Regions from separate parts of the Homo sapiens genome. Here region 2 is linked to region 1. The links are contacts of gene promoters, found by promoter capture Hi-C in blood cells and fetal thymus (Javierre and others, 2016). All regions are on one chromosome and are shown on one strand. Each heading gives the region's core, a stretch centred on a gene start or on the middle of the fragment in contact. The rest is flanking DNA. Distances are from core to core; before and after follow the strand shown.

Region 1 (6,312 bases), core at 1,652-4,151:
TAAACATATAACATCTGCTAGTATTCAAAGTATAAAGAAATAAAACATGGAAGGCAGATAGAGAATGGCGAGAAGGCGCTTGCAATACTAAATATGGTAATCAGAGAAGATTTTACCAAGTGGGATATTTGATCCATCACCTGAAGGACAGGAGTATGTCAATATCTGGGTTGCATACAGCATTATGGGCCATTATAAGGGGTTTTGTTGTTACTGAGTGTCAGATGGGAAGCCATTGGAGGAGTTTTGAGCAGAGGAGTGACATGATCTGACATTCACATAATAAAATTATCCTGGTTCCAAAAAACAGTGAGAGAATAATAGGCTTGAGTGATGGTGGCAAGAACAGAAGCAAGGAGAACAGTTGAGAGGCTAGTGCAATATAATCCAGGAAGCAGATCATTGTGACATAAACCAGGATAGTAGCAATGAAAAAGTGGTCAGATTCTAGATATATTCTGAAGGTAGAACCAATAAGATTTGCTGATCAAATAAATGTAGGATATGAAAGAGGGAAAAATCAAGATTGATTCCTAGGTCTTCCGCCTGAGCAACCGGAAGAATGAAATTGGTATTTAGGGAGACGGGGAAGACTGTGAGGAGCAGGTTTTGTGAGTGCAGCAGGTTTTGTTGGGGGTTGTGGGCAGGGGCAGTTTTGAACATGGTAAGTTGGAGATACCTATTAGGCATGCAAGTTGATATGTCCAGCAGGCAATTGGGCATAAAAGTATGGAGATACAAATTTGTGACTCATCAGCAAATAGATAGTATATTAAGCCACGAAGATCGGAGCATCACTAAGAAGATAAAGGACAGAAGATATCTTAGGCTTCAAGCCTTCCTCTACCTTTCAACTCCAGAAGTCAGTCCGTGACAAAATCCTATCAATTCTTCCTGTATAATGTCTCTCAATTCACCATTTTCCTTCCATTCCCACTGCTACCATTGTAGTCCAGGATCTCACCTTGTCTTACTTGGCTTTTACAATAGCCTCCTAACTGGTTTCCTTGCCTCCAAATGTCAACTTGAAACTCATCATCTCATTTGTCCTTCCCCTCCAAAAAAATCTTTCTACTTCTCCTGGGCTCTCTATCTTAAAGAATGGCATCACTATTCATAAGCATTTGCTTAAACTTGAAAATTTGAAATCCTCCTTGTCACCTCCCTTTCTTCTACTCTCCATTATGCAATTCTATTACCAAACCCTGACATTTTTACCTCCAAAATATAACTCAATTCTGTCCACCATTCTCTGTCTCTATTACTATCAATCTAGTTCAAGATAACATCACCTCCCACCTGGACAATGGTAATAGCCTCTTGACTACTCTTCTTCCCTCTAGTTAATCTCCCATATGAAAACCAGTGGAATCTTTCTAAAACAGTGCTATGCATATTTTGCCTACCTATTCTGTAGGTCCACAGAATAAAATTCAAAAGCCCTTCATCATTTGCCCATAACTTTTCTTTCCAATGGTATCTACTATGGCTTCTCTGGAAATTCCCCTCATTTCATCCCTGTGGGCTTGTCAGTGGTCTTTAGACCCACCATGACCACAGTGTGCCCCCAATACCTAGTGCAGACCTTCCCAAACATATTACAAGTGTCTGAGGCTATGAGATTTCTTCTCTGTCCTCAACTGAGCCCAGAGACAGTGCTGTTGAAACTCCTAGAATGCTTGCCTCTAGATGTCAAACTGCTTCCTCCATTCAGCCTAGTGTGCTTTACAAATACTATGCTTTTCTCTGCATGCCATGACACAATAAAGGTTGTGAAGGACTGCTTTAATGCACACCATTCCCAGAGTTTGGAAAGTGCTGCTCCATTCTCTTCTCTAAGTTCTAAGTACCCTTCTATGCCAAGTTCAAGTCTCACCTTTCTGATAAAGCAGTCTTTGATGCTACATATCCAACCTCAAAATTCTTGTATGATGTGACCAGACCACTCATTTGGCACTTAGTATATGTGCTGCTATTTAACTTTTTATGGTGAGACCTTATCTCTCTGTGTTGTCTGTTGCTTAAGAGCAACAATTTTTATACCGACTTTTGCACCCAGGGCCTTACCATACAGTAAGACACTCAGTATATTTTTACAATATTAATGAATAAATTAATTAATGAATAGATAGTTAAATTCCATCAGATGGTGCAATGGACAAGAACATTAGATTCAGAATCAGAGAATCTGGATTCTAGTGCACTTTGCCACTAGATGGTTGTGTGAGACTTCAGGAAAGTTGCTTGCCTTAGTTGCCTCATTCACAAAATAGGAACAATACTTCCCATTGTGACTTCCCAAGTTGAGATGGGATAATTTATGGAAAAAATATTTGGCAGATGAAAAGAGCATGTCGTTCATGAGTAATGCCAAAAGAGGCAGTGTGGAAGATAAAGAATGAGCTCAAAGAAGCTGCAGAAAACATTAGAGGGTTCATGGGTGAAAAAAAAGCCAAAGGGGTAAGGGAAATTTGCTAGCAAAGTAGACTTGCCCAGGAGTGATTGAGAAAGGATGATAAACACAGAAGAAAGAAAAATCAAGTTTCTGTTGCGAAGCAGTATAACACAGCCACTAGATCCAGACTGCCTAGGTTCAAAGCCTGGCTCTGGCACTTAACCAGCTATGTGACCTTGAACAAGTTATTTAACATCTCTGAACTTCAGTTTACTCATATGTATTATGGGGGCAATAATAATGCCTATTTCCAGGGAAGTGTTATAAGATGTAAAGGAGTTAATACTTATAAAGTACTTAGAGCAGTGCAGACCAGTGCCTAGCATATAGAGCGTTATAGAAGAACGTGTTAGATAAAATAATAATCTTCTCCTTACCAGGCAATACTCCAGTCCTCATGGCTGGCACTTTCTCCTGGGACCTGGAGCAGGGCTCACGAAAGTTCTGACTTGCTCTCCAGTGGGCACGTCTCCTTTCCACATTCCAGAGCCCAGTCCTCTGAGCTTAGCCTATCTCACTGCTCAAAGGACACTATGTTTCCCAGCCTACAAAGTTTCTTTTCAATTCTTTAGCCTTTTTCAAAACCCAATAGAGTTCCTTGTGAGAACAGATAGGAGTGAATTCCATAAGCTCCCAGAAGCAAATACAGACAGTATAATCTAATCTTTTAGAGCAATGGCTTTGTAATCAAGCAAAAGAGAGTTTGAATCAGGGCTCTGTAAATGACCAACTGAGTGACCTTGGACAAATCCAAGGTCTGAGCCTCAGCTTGCTTGTCTTCAAAATGAGGCCTCACAGGTGGTTGTCAGGATCAAATGAGAAAATGGACATGATGCATTCAGTATAGGGCCTGGCATGTGGTAAGCACTCAGAAAGTGTTAGCTCTTATCATTAATAATTCCTAGGATTATGGGTCTCGATTTTCCCAACTCTAGAATGTAATTTAATAGCACTATAGCTCTTATCCACTATTCCTCTGTCATCTCAATTTGACCCTTCCAAACTAAAAAGGTGCAAAAAAATATTCTTGGTGTGATAAGTTGACAACACTCTGCATTTTACACTCCCTTTGAGGTTTATGCCCAGTTTAAAAGAATTACAGAGAAAGAACCCGCAACTCTAAGTATGCTTCAGATTTCCATATGTCTGTAAATGCCTCAAAGACAGCAGTGGTCCTCTTAGCCTAGGGTGAACATCAAAATCACCTATTTTTATTTTTAATTTCATTAAATATAATTCTTCTGATAAAATGGCAAAGAATTTTTTTTCAAAATCCTTGCTTTTACCCTAGAAATGATACTCCTCATGAAACAAATGTCCAATGGGGAGACAGAGGGCCAGGCAAGTATATTTTGCAAAAGTTATCCAAGTCAGTCTCGTAAACACCCCTGATGTGAGAGAGGGACTGGAACATGCATTTGGAGGATGAGGCCAGGGTCTTGCCTTGAGAAAAAATCCAAGAAGGGCAAGTATAACCACTCTGCTTCCCACACAATGTGGGTATGTAGAAACATGCCCTGCACCCACAGGGAAGAGCATAGTATTTTCTCCTGCATGCATTAATCACAGAGGATTTCCCTCCTATAGTTATACAAGCATCATCCTTGACACATCAGTTGGAGAACTGTACTCAGTGAGAATACAAGATTCATCCAGCTTTGAAAATGTAACTATATCTAACAACTGGATTAAATATATTTCATGCCCAAAGATCTAATACTATTTAAAGCCTACAGCAAGGAAGAATGATTACCAAATAATTTAATTATTTTTGGTTTACACATCTGTCATCAAAGTTAATCGTTTGCTGGCAGAAACTGGCCATTTGGTCTTGACCATGATCACTAATGAGTGTGCTTGCATTTCATATCAAGGAAACAGTCTCTCAAATGGTTCTAATCAAATAAATTAAAAGCTGAAATACTTTTAAAAAAGTAAAAAGTGTAAAAAGGCACAATTTATAAGATTTATGAAGTGGTTACTTTTTCTTTTCTGATTTTATGTATATCTATCACTCAACACTTGCTGTGAAACATATTAGATACACCTACGTTACTTTGGAGGACCACCAAATATTTGATTTTCCCATGTATTTATCTAAAAATGTTATTAAATTTTCATTTAAATCTTTCAAAAATAGAGTGTTAAATTTCATGTATATGTGTGATCTATACTAATAGATCTAAGCTAATGTATACATACTCAGTTCTCATTTTTCTATTTGCAAAATTCAAACTAATGAATTAGTTTGAAGAAAGAAGAAAGAAATGAAGAATTTTGAAAAGTAATTCTCAAAATGCTTAAAAATAGATGCTAAATTCATTGAGCTACTCATTTCAATATTTTAATATAAGAATGCAAAATTTGTAATGTAGTAGTTAGGTACACAGACTTGAAAATCAGGGAGAAGTGATTCCATTTTCCTTCTGCTCTCTTGCTAACTATGCAACCTCAGGCAAGTAACTGCACTTCTCTGAGCTTTAGTTATCTCATCTGTAAAATGAGGATAATAATATTATATGTCATAAGGGATGTGGACATTAAATATGATAATACTTACAAAATATTATTATTTTTTCCTTTCAAAACTATTTTTAATTGACAAATGATAAGGTGTGTATATATATATATGGTACAATGTGATGTTTTGATCTATGTGTATATTATAGAAAGATTCAATCAAGCTAATGAACATATCTATCACCTCGCTAATTTATCATTATTTTGTGGTAAGAACATTAAAAAGCTATTCTTTTACCAATTTTGAAATACACAATATATTATTATTAACTGTGGTTACCATGTAGTGCAATACATCACTAAAAGTTATTCCTCTAGTTGGCCAGTGTGGTGGCTCACACTTGTAATCCCAGCACTTTGGGAGGCCGAGGCAGGTGGATCACCTAAGGTCAGGAGTTTGAGACCAGCCTGGCCAACATGGTGAAACCCCGTCTCCACTAAAAAAACACAAAAATCAGCTGGGTGTGGAGGTACATGCCTGTAATCCCATCTACTCTGGAGGCTGTGGCAGAAGACTCACTTGAACCCAGGAGGTGAAGGTTGCAGTGAGCCGAGATGCTGCCACTGCACTCCAGCCTGGGCAACAGAGTAGGACTCTGTCTCAAAAAAAAAAAAAAAAAAAAGGTTATGCCTCCAGTCTCACTGAAATTTTATATAATTTGATCAACATCTTCCCTTTCCCCAACCCTCCTCCTCCCCACTAACCTCTGGTAACCACCTTTCTGTTCTTTGTTTCTATGATATCCACTTTTTAAGATTTCACGTAGGAGATCACACAATATTTATCTTTCTGTGCTTGCCTTATTTCACATAGCATAGTATCTTCCAGTTCCATCCATGTTGTTTTGAATGATAGAATTTTCTTATTTTTTAAGGCTATATAGTATTCCATCGTGTATAGGTATTACATTTTCTTTATCCATTCATCTGTTGATGGACATTTGGGTTGCTTCCACATCTTGACTATTGTGAATAATACTAAAATGAACATGGGCGTGCAGATATCTCTTTGACATACTGATCTCAATTCCTTTGGATTTATACCCAGAAGTGACATTGCTGTATCATACGGTAATTCTATTTTTAGTTTTTTGAGGAACCTTTATACTGTTTTCCAAATGGTTATATGAATTCACCTTCCAATCAACAGTGTGCAAGGATTCTCTTTTCACCATATTCTCACCAACACTTATCACTCATCTTTTTGATAATGGCCATTTTAACAGATGATACCTCATTGTGGTTTTACTTTGCATTTCCCTGATGAGTATAGATGTTGAGCATTTTTTTTCACATATCTGTTGGCAATTCACAACTCTTAAGAAATGTCTATCCAA
Region 2 (6,597 bases), core at 1,336-3,835, 880 kb after region 1:
CTGTTAACTTGATTCAGGCTGTAATTAGAAAGACAAATCAATCTTTCATAGAAGTCCTCGGCTTGACAAGCTGGTATGAGGAGCCATTTCCCTCAGAGCTATTTGTCATAGTCTTTCTTTGTACATGTTTAACGAACGGTGGTTTTCTGTGTGAAGCCAGGCTTCCCATCAGATTGTAAAAACTACCTGAAATGAAATTATGCATCCCTATGCTCTAGCCGCTTTCCATGGAAGTCTGATCCCATGCAGGTGTTCACACCTGAGTAACCTAGGCAATGGCCCCAGAACAACTGTGGGCCAGTAGTATTCTATTTCCAAAATTTCATACCTTCAAACTTTGTTTTAGTTATATCCACATTTCCCATTAACCCCAGGAAAGACTTTAGTGAGCTAATTTTTTTCCTTAAACCAAAATCAGCAGGTGGAGGTTTAGGGCATCCTCCCCCTATCTTGCCCCTTTCTTTCCCTCCCTCCCTCCCTTCCTTCCTTCCTTCCTTCCTTCCTTCCTTCCTTCCTTCCTTCCTTCCTTCCTTCCTTCCTTCTTCTCTCCCTTCATTCCTCCCTCCCCTTCTTTCCTTCCTTCTTTCTCTTCTTCCCTCCTTCCCTCTCCCTTCCTCCCCCTTCCTCTTTTCCTTCCTTCTCTCTTCCTCCCTTCCTTCCTTCCTTCCCTTCTTTTTTTCTTTTTTCTTTTTTAAAGAATAAGTTTCCTTCTGTAAAATCTTGAGTTGGGGGATCAAGACTAAATCCTACAGCAACATAAAACTTTCTGGTTGTCCAGGGAGTCCTAACAGAGTTAGAAATATCACCAAATGCATCACATCGGTACCAGAAAAAATGTAAGGGCAGACCTTCAGCTTGGGAAATGTTTATCTTGCAGTTAACAAAGGGAAAAGAGCAACAAAAACTGAGAGTGAATGCCAAGGGACACTTTGTGGCATGTGGCCTGAGGAGGGACCCGTGTTGTATGAATTTTAGAAATGGTATAAAAAATCTAACTTTTTAGAATTTGGGGTGGGCATTGTGCTTAGGAGTTACCTGGATTATAACACAAAAATGCCAGCCTTACACCTAGAATGGACAGTTAATCACTTTGATCTGAGGGGCACCAAAAGTTTCTTCATTTTTTTGCTCAAAAAGTAGTCCATCCTCCTTTGCCTACCTGCAACTGATGCTTGAAATAGACATTATATTATTAGAGATTAATTATTTTGGCATAAACTTCTCCCCAGCCCTTAAGAGAGAACAAACACCACTGGTTGGGGAGGAATACAGGAAAGTGTCAAATATTATCATTCATTTACATATTAGTGCAAATCATTTAAAGAGTTTCTTTCTTTAGAGTTGTTTTCTCTCCATTAACGAGAGGGCAGAGAGAGCTGTGCTAGAAGTCTGAAGACAAACTTTACCCCTTGATAATTTTGCCAAAGGTGGGTCTTGATTAAGGCCTAAAATAGAGCATTTTAAATAACATGGTAATACAAAACATTTTATTTGTGCTCCATATCTCCTCTTCAGTATTAATTCAACATATATTTTTTGCGCACCTACTATGTGTCAGGCACTGCGAAGGGCACTGGAGATTTAATGTTAAGCAAAAGCAAGCAGGGAACTTACTAACTTGGTTTTCTCCCTCCTGAGGTACATGCTTGCTTTTCTTGTTTAGATTTCTTGGCCAGGCCCTTATACTCTCCCATTTTTTTTTTGTAGTTAGTCTTAGCACAGACCAACTTCTCAACGTGTGTTTGTTATTAATGATAATAAGATAACCAGTGATTTTAGGAGCCCAGGTTTTCAGTGTAGCATAACTCCAGCATTGTCGGGGAGTGGGGTCTTCACATCACAGAAGCTTGACAGAGGATTCCAGGCCAAAATTAAAAATGATCAGGAACTGGATCTACCAGATAGAAGCAAGTACTTTGGGGGAATCCAACTCCAGTGAGAAGCTAATTAGAGCAGCAAAGGCTAGAAAATGTTGAATGAACTCAGCAGTTTCAAAGTGCAGAGGTTTAGAAAAGTAACTGCCTAGACAAAGTACAGAATCCCAGGATGGATGGAGGTCAGAGAATAAAGGGACTTGCTGATCTGCTAGTCCAGCTAAAGGGGAAAAAGGAGAGACCTAGAGTAGGCAACAATCTGTTCAGGTCACATGGTGAGTTGGTGCAGAATTGGGTCCAGGACCCTGGCCTTCTGATTCCCAGTGCAGTCCTCTTTCCAAATAGGGAGGAAGAACCAGTGTTTATTGAAAGACAACTGTGCACTTAGTATTCTAATTTATTTACTTCTTTATCTCAAAATGATTAAATTAAATTTACCCCCACTTTGCAGATGAGGAAGTTGAAAATTGGGGCTAATATGCTGAAGGGTGTACCCTCAAGATTTCCATTCTCAAAGATTAGGATTAGCTTTACATAGAATACAGTGGAACTGGTGCTCCCCACCCCCAGCTGTGCAGCACTGTGCCCTGAGTGAGGAGTCAGTGGGCAGTCCCAGGGCTAGGCTTGAACACTAGTAGCAAATTACTTCTGGTTGGATAATGAATTTCTTGGTGGCTCCTCCCAATTTACTCTGCCCCTCCCCAACTCTACCTAATTTATTCTTTCATGGGTGACTGGGGAACTTCTTTAAACTGCAAATGAATGATTCGAACTCAGTTTGAGTAACATAGCAGGTATAATAATGGTAGTCTCATTGACTTCATAGATGAGGGGCTATCTGCAGAACTTCTATCTAGCACAGGGCTCAATCAACTGGGGTGCAAATCTCCATTCTACCGTGGTTTGCCCTTAGGCAAGTTACTTACCCTTTCTGAGCCTCAGTTTCATCATCTGTAAATAGTGATGATAATAACACCTACTTCAAAGGACTGTGATGAGTTTTTTAAATTCAGTTTTTAAAATGAGACAATACATGGAAAGAGTGTAGCCCAGCATTTGACACACAGCAAGAACTCAGTATATCTTAGACTTTGTTAGTCTAAGTGCTAATTTCTGGATTAAATGCACAGATACTGGGAAGGAACCCATGAAACTAGTGTGTTTGGGGAAGAAGAGGCAGTATGTCGGCTTTCTTGCCCTGTTGCTGTGAATAGGGTTTTGTTTCCCATATAGAGCTGTCCTCACTGTTGCACATTCCTAGTGGTCAAAAGAGTGAGGCCTATAAGGACAGAGAGATAATGTAGTTCAATATCCTTGTCACAATACAGACCAGAAATAGAGATCCTTCCCATATTACTCCAGATGAGTGGCTCCTACAGTGTCCTGCCTCCCAAATTTTGCCATGGCAGAGAAAAGAGGGAGGCTGGAAGAAGCTGGAAGAGAAGCTTGTGGCTCTTGACTAGAGCTCAGCTCTGGGTTGGGAGCTCTTTGAAGCCTGAGTCAACACCTCACACTTCATCCATCCTGTATCTCACTCTCATGCATTCAACATAGTGCACAGAATAGATCTAATTTTTTGGAGGCAGGTTAGACTGGATTATCTTTGAGGGCCTAGGAATAAATTTGAGGCTCTTATGCATATAATCAGCTCAGAATCATCTTTCCACTGTCCCCAAAGCAAAGTTAGAAGTCCTCCCCCATCCCACACACCCCTCAGCCACTGGCTTATGTTGTTTTGTGAACTGTTTGCTCCCCCAAGACTTTCTTGACTCTCATTCAAATCAGCTTTCACCAATATACGAATGTTGGGGCATACTATTTGTGGTAGGTCTTTAAGATTCACTAGATATGCCTCAGATTGGTCTCTTCAGGAGTCAAGGTTTCTCATAAAATTAGGAGTGAGAGTCAAGATAATAACCAACAGGGCTGGCACAGACAGAATTGTTGCTGCCCATAAACAACCAGTTTGGCCTGATTGGTGCACACCAGCGCTGATTATCAGCCCTGAAGAAAGCTATGCCATTATTTTGATCTTTGATTAGAATTAAGGATTTACTAAGGATTCTCCTTATTAACATCTCTGTGACCTATCTTTAAGTGTTGTGGGGTCTCAGGGTTTTGTCCTTTGTCTTCTTTCTTTACTCCACAAAAGGCATGTTTTAAATTACCCTCTATCAATTGATTACACTCAAATTTATAACTCTTATTCAGCTTTCTATTAAGAATTTATAACTCTTGTTCAGCTTTCTATTTTTTTCCTAGGCCCTCCAGTATGTGCTGTTATCTACTGGATATTGCCACTTGTTGGCCAATTCAAGATCTCTATCAGAATGCATCGTCTCTCCCACCTCCTTCCTCCAGTGTTTCCTATCTCAGAGACTTGTGCCATTTTCCAATCAGTTTCCTAGGTCTGAAAAGCTCAAAATCATCCTAGAGTCCTCCTTTCTTTTCACTTACCTTCTATATCTTGTCAGTCACCAAGTTCTTGTTATTTCTGTTTTCTTAATCTTGATATTTTTAATCTTGGAGGAGATGATCCCATTCCTCTAGGTCTTCACTACCACTCTCTTGGTCTGTCATCATTTCTCATATGGATTATTGTGACAGACTCCAAACTGGTCTCTTTGCCTCCAGTCTTGCTTTCTTCCAACTCATTCTCCACATTGTTGCTAGAGAGATCCTTTAAAATGGAAATCTGATAATACTATTTCCCTGCTTAAAACCATTGGGTACAGTATTCAATCATGGCATATCTTGGTGATCTGGCCCTTGCCTTGTCTGACATCACAGACTCAAGCAGAACAAATGCTTTAGAATTCTAAGAATCCATATATATATGTATACACACACACACATACATATATACACGCACATATATATATACACATATATATACACACGCACATATATACACACACACATATATATATAGTCTGTCTATCTATCTATCTATCTATCTATCTATCTATCTATCTATCTATCTATCTTTACCTCTGGGTCTTTCTGCATGTTGTTCCTTCTGTTTGGAAGGCTCTTAGCATCTTAGCACCAAACTACTCCTGCAACTTCATTCACCTGGCTAACTTTTCTTCAGTACTCAATCCAGAGAGACTGTTCTTCCTCCCTTCTCTCCTCCCCTGAAATCTGGGTTTAGGTGATCCTCTCTGTCTCTCTGTTTGGGCTACCTCAATCATAGCACTTTTTACTCTGCATTGTTATTATCTGTTTACATCTATTTCTCTCCAAGAGAGCTGTATGGGAGAGAAAAATGGACATATTGAAAACTATAATAATGATACTATGTCTAATATAATGCCAATGACTTGCCAGGCTCTGTTATAAGCACTTGCCGTGTGTTAACTCATGTAATTTTCAAAACACTGTAAGGTGGGCAGCTATTACTGAAGTTGAATAAATAGGAATTGGTGATAGATTGAATGTGGGGGAAGAGAAGGAGTCTCAGTGATTTCCAGTTTTCTGAAAGAAGCAAGTGGGCAAACAGTGGATGGATGTGCCATGTACTGAGATACGGGGTACAGGAAGAGGAGGAGTTTTGTCAGGATGGGGGAAAGAAACTTTTAGTTTGGGCACTGCCATTTTTTTTTTTTTTTTGCCATTCTTTCACAACCGATGATTTCCAGAAGCTTCAGAAATAATGTGAGTAACAAACCTTTTCCTCTGATTGACAGGCATTTGGAAACACCACCGTCTGTGTCGGGAAAGCAGAATAACTCTCCAGTATCTCGTCATTAGCTTGCTGGAAGCAGGAGGGCTATGTTCCTGGGACTCGGGCGCTTTTCTCGCCTTGTTCTCTGGTTTGCGGCTTTCAGGAAACTGCTGGGACACCATGGCCTTGCATCTGCCAAGTTCCTGTGGTGCTTGTGCCTTCTGTCTGTCATGTCCCTTCCGCAGCAGGTGTGGACACTCCCCTACAAGATAGGGGTGGTGGGCCCTTGGGCTTGTGATTCGCTGTTTTCAAAGGCCCTGCCTGAGGTTGCTGCGCGATTAGCCATTGAGCGAATCAACCGGGACCCATCTTTTGACCTGAGTTATTCTTTTGAATACGTGATTCTCAATGAAGACTGCCAGACTTCGAGGGCTCTCTCCAGTTTCATTTCCCACCACCAGATGGCCTCAGGATTTATTGGACCTACCAACCCTGGCTACTGCGAGGCAGCCTCGCTCCTGGGAAACAGCTGGGACAAAGGAATTTTCTCTTGGGCTTGTGTGAATTATGAATTAGACAATAAAATTAGCTACCCGACCTTTTCTCGGACACTCCCTTCTCCCATCCGGGTGCTTGTAACTGTCATGAAATATTTCCAGTGGGCTCATGCTGGAGTCATTTCCTCAGATGAAGACATTTGGGTGCATACAGCCAATCGAGTCGCAAGTGCTCTTCGGAGCCACGGCTTACCTGTAGGGGTCGTCCTGACCACAGGACAAGACAGCCAAAGCATGCGGAAAGCCCTCCAGAGGATTCACCAGGCAGACAGAATTCGCAGTGAGTGCTTTCTCCCGCTGAAATTTAAACGTGACTTCAGGGAAAGAGATTACAATCTCCAAAAGGTTTCCTACCCTCACACCCTAGGGTAGCACATCCCTTCCCATTTCTTTACACATTTGCCCTTTTTCACTCACACACAGGTCCCAAGACTGCCCTGCTTCAACAGAGCCTATTTTATGAACTGAATAACAGTACAAAGAACTCTGTGCTTCATAT

Evidence for each region. Contacts are between HindIII fragments. The CHiCAGO score rates a contact against its expected background, and 5 or more counts as called.
Region 2: a contact is called between a fragment that was not itself captured here and the fragment with the promoter of RTL9 in region 1, in 1 of 17 cell types (neutrophils). The highest score is 5.5, in neutrophils.

What each region holds. Positions count from the first base shown.
Region 1 is chrX:110,355,437-110,361,748 of GRCh38, reverse strand. It overlaps RTL9 (retrotransposon Gag like 9), which reads right to left and starts at 2,901. Exons shown (of 4, transcript NM_001385449.1): 1 at 2,833-2,901. It also overlaps a transcript of AMMECR1 not described here. The HindIII fragment of the contact is 7,244 bases long and covers 1-6,312 here.
Region 2 is chrX:109,474,988-109,481,584 of GRCh38, reverse strand. GUCY2F (guanylate cyclase 2F, retinal) reads left to right here. Exons shown (of 20, transcript NM_001522.3): 2 at 5,564-6,378. The coding sequence starts at 5,649. Among named protein-coding and RNA genes, the nearest start is that of GUCY2F, 3.8 kb to the left of the region's middle. The HindIII fragment of the contact is 1,473 bases long and covers 1,849-3,321 here.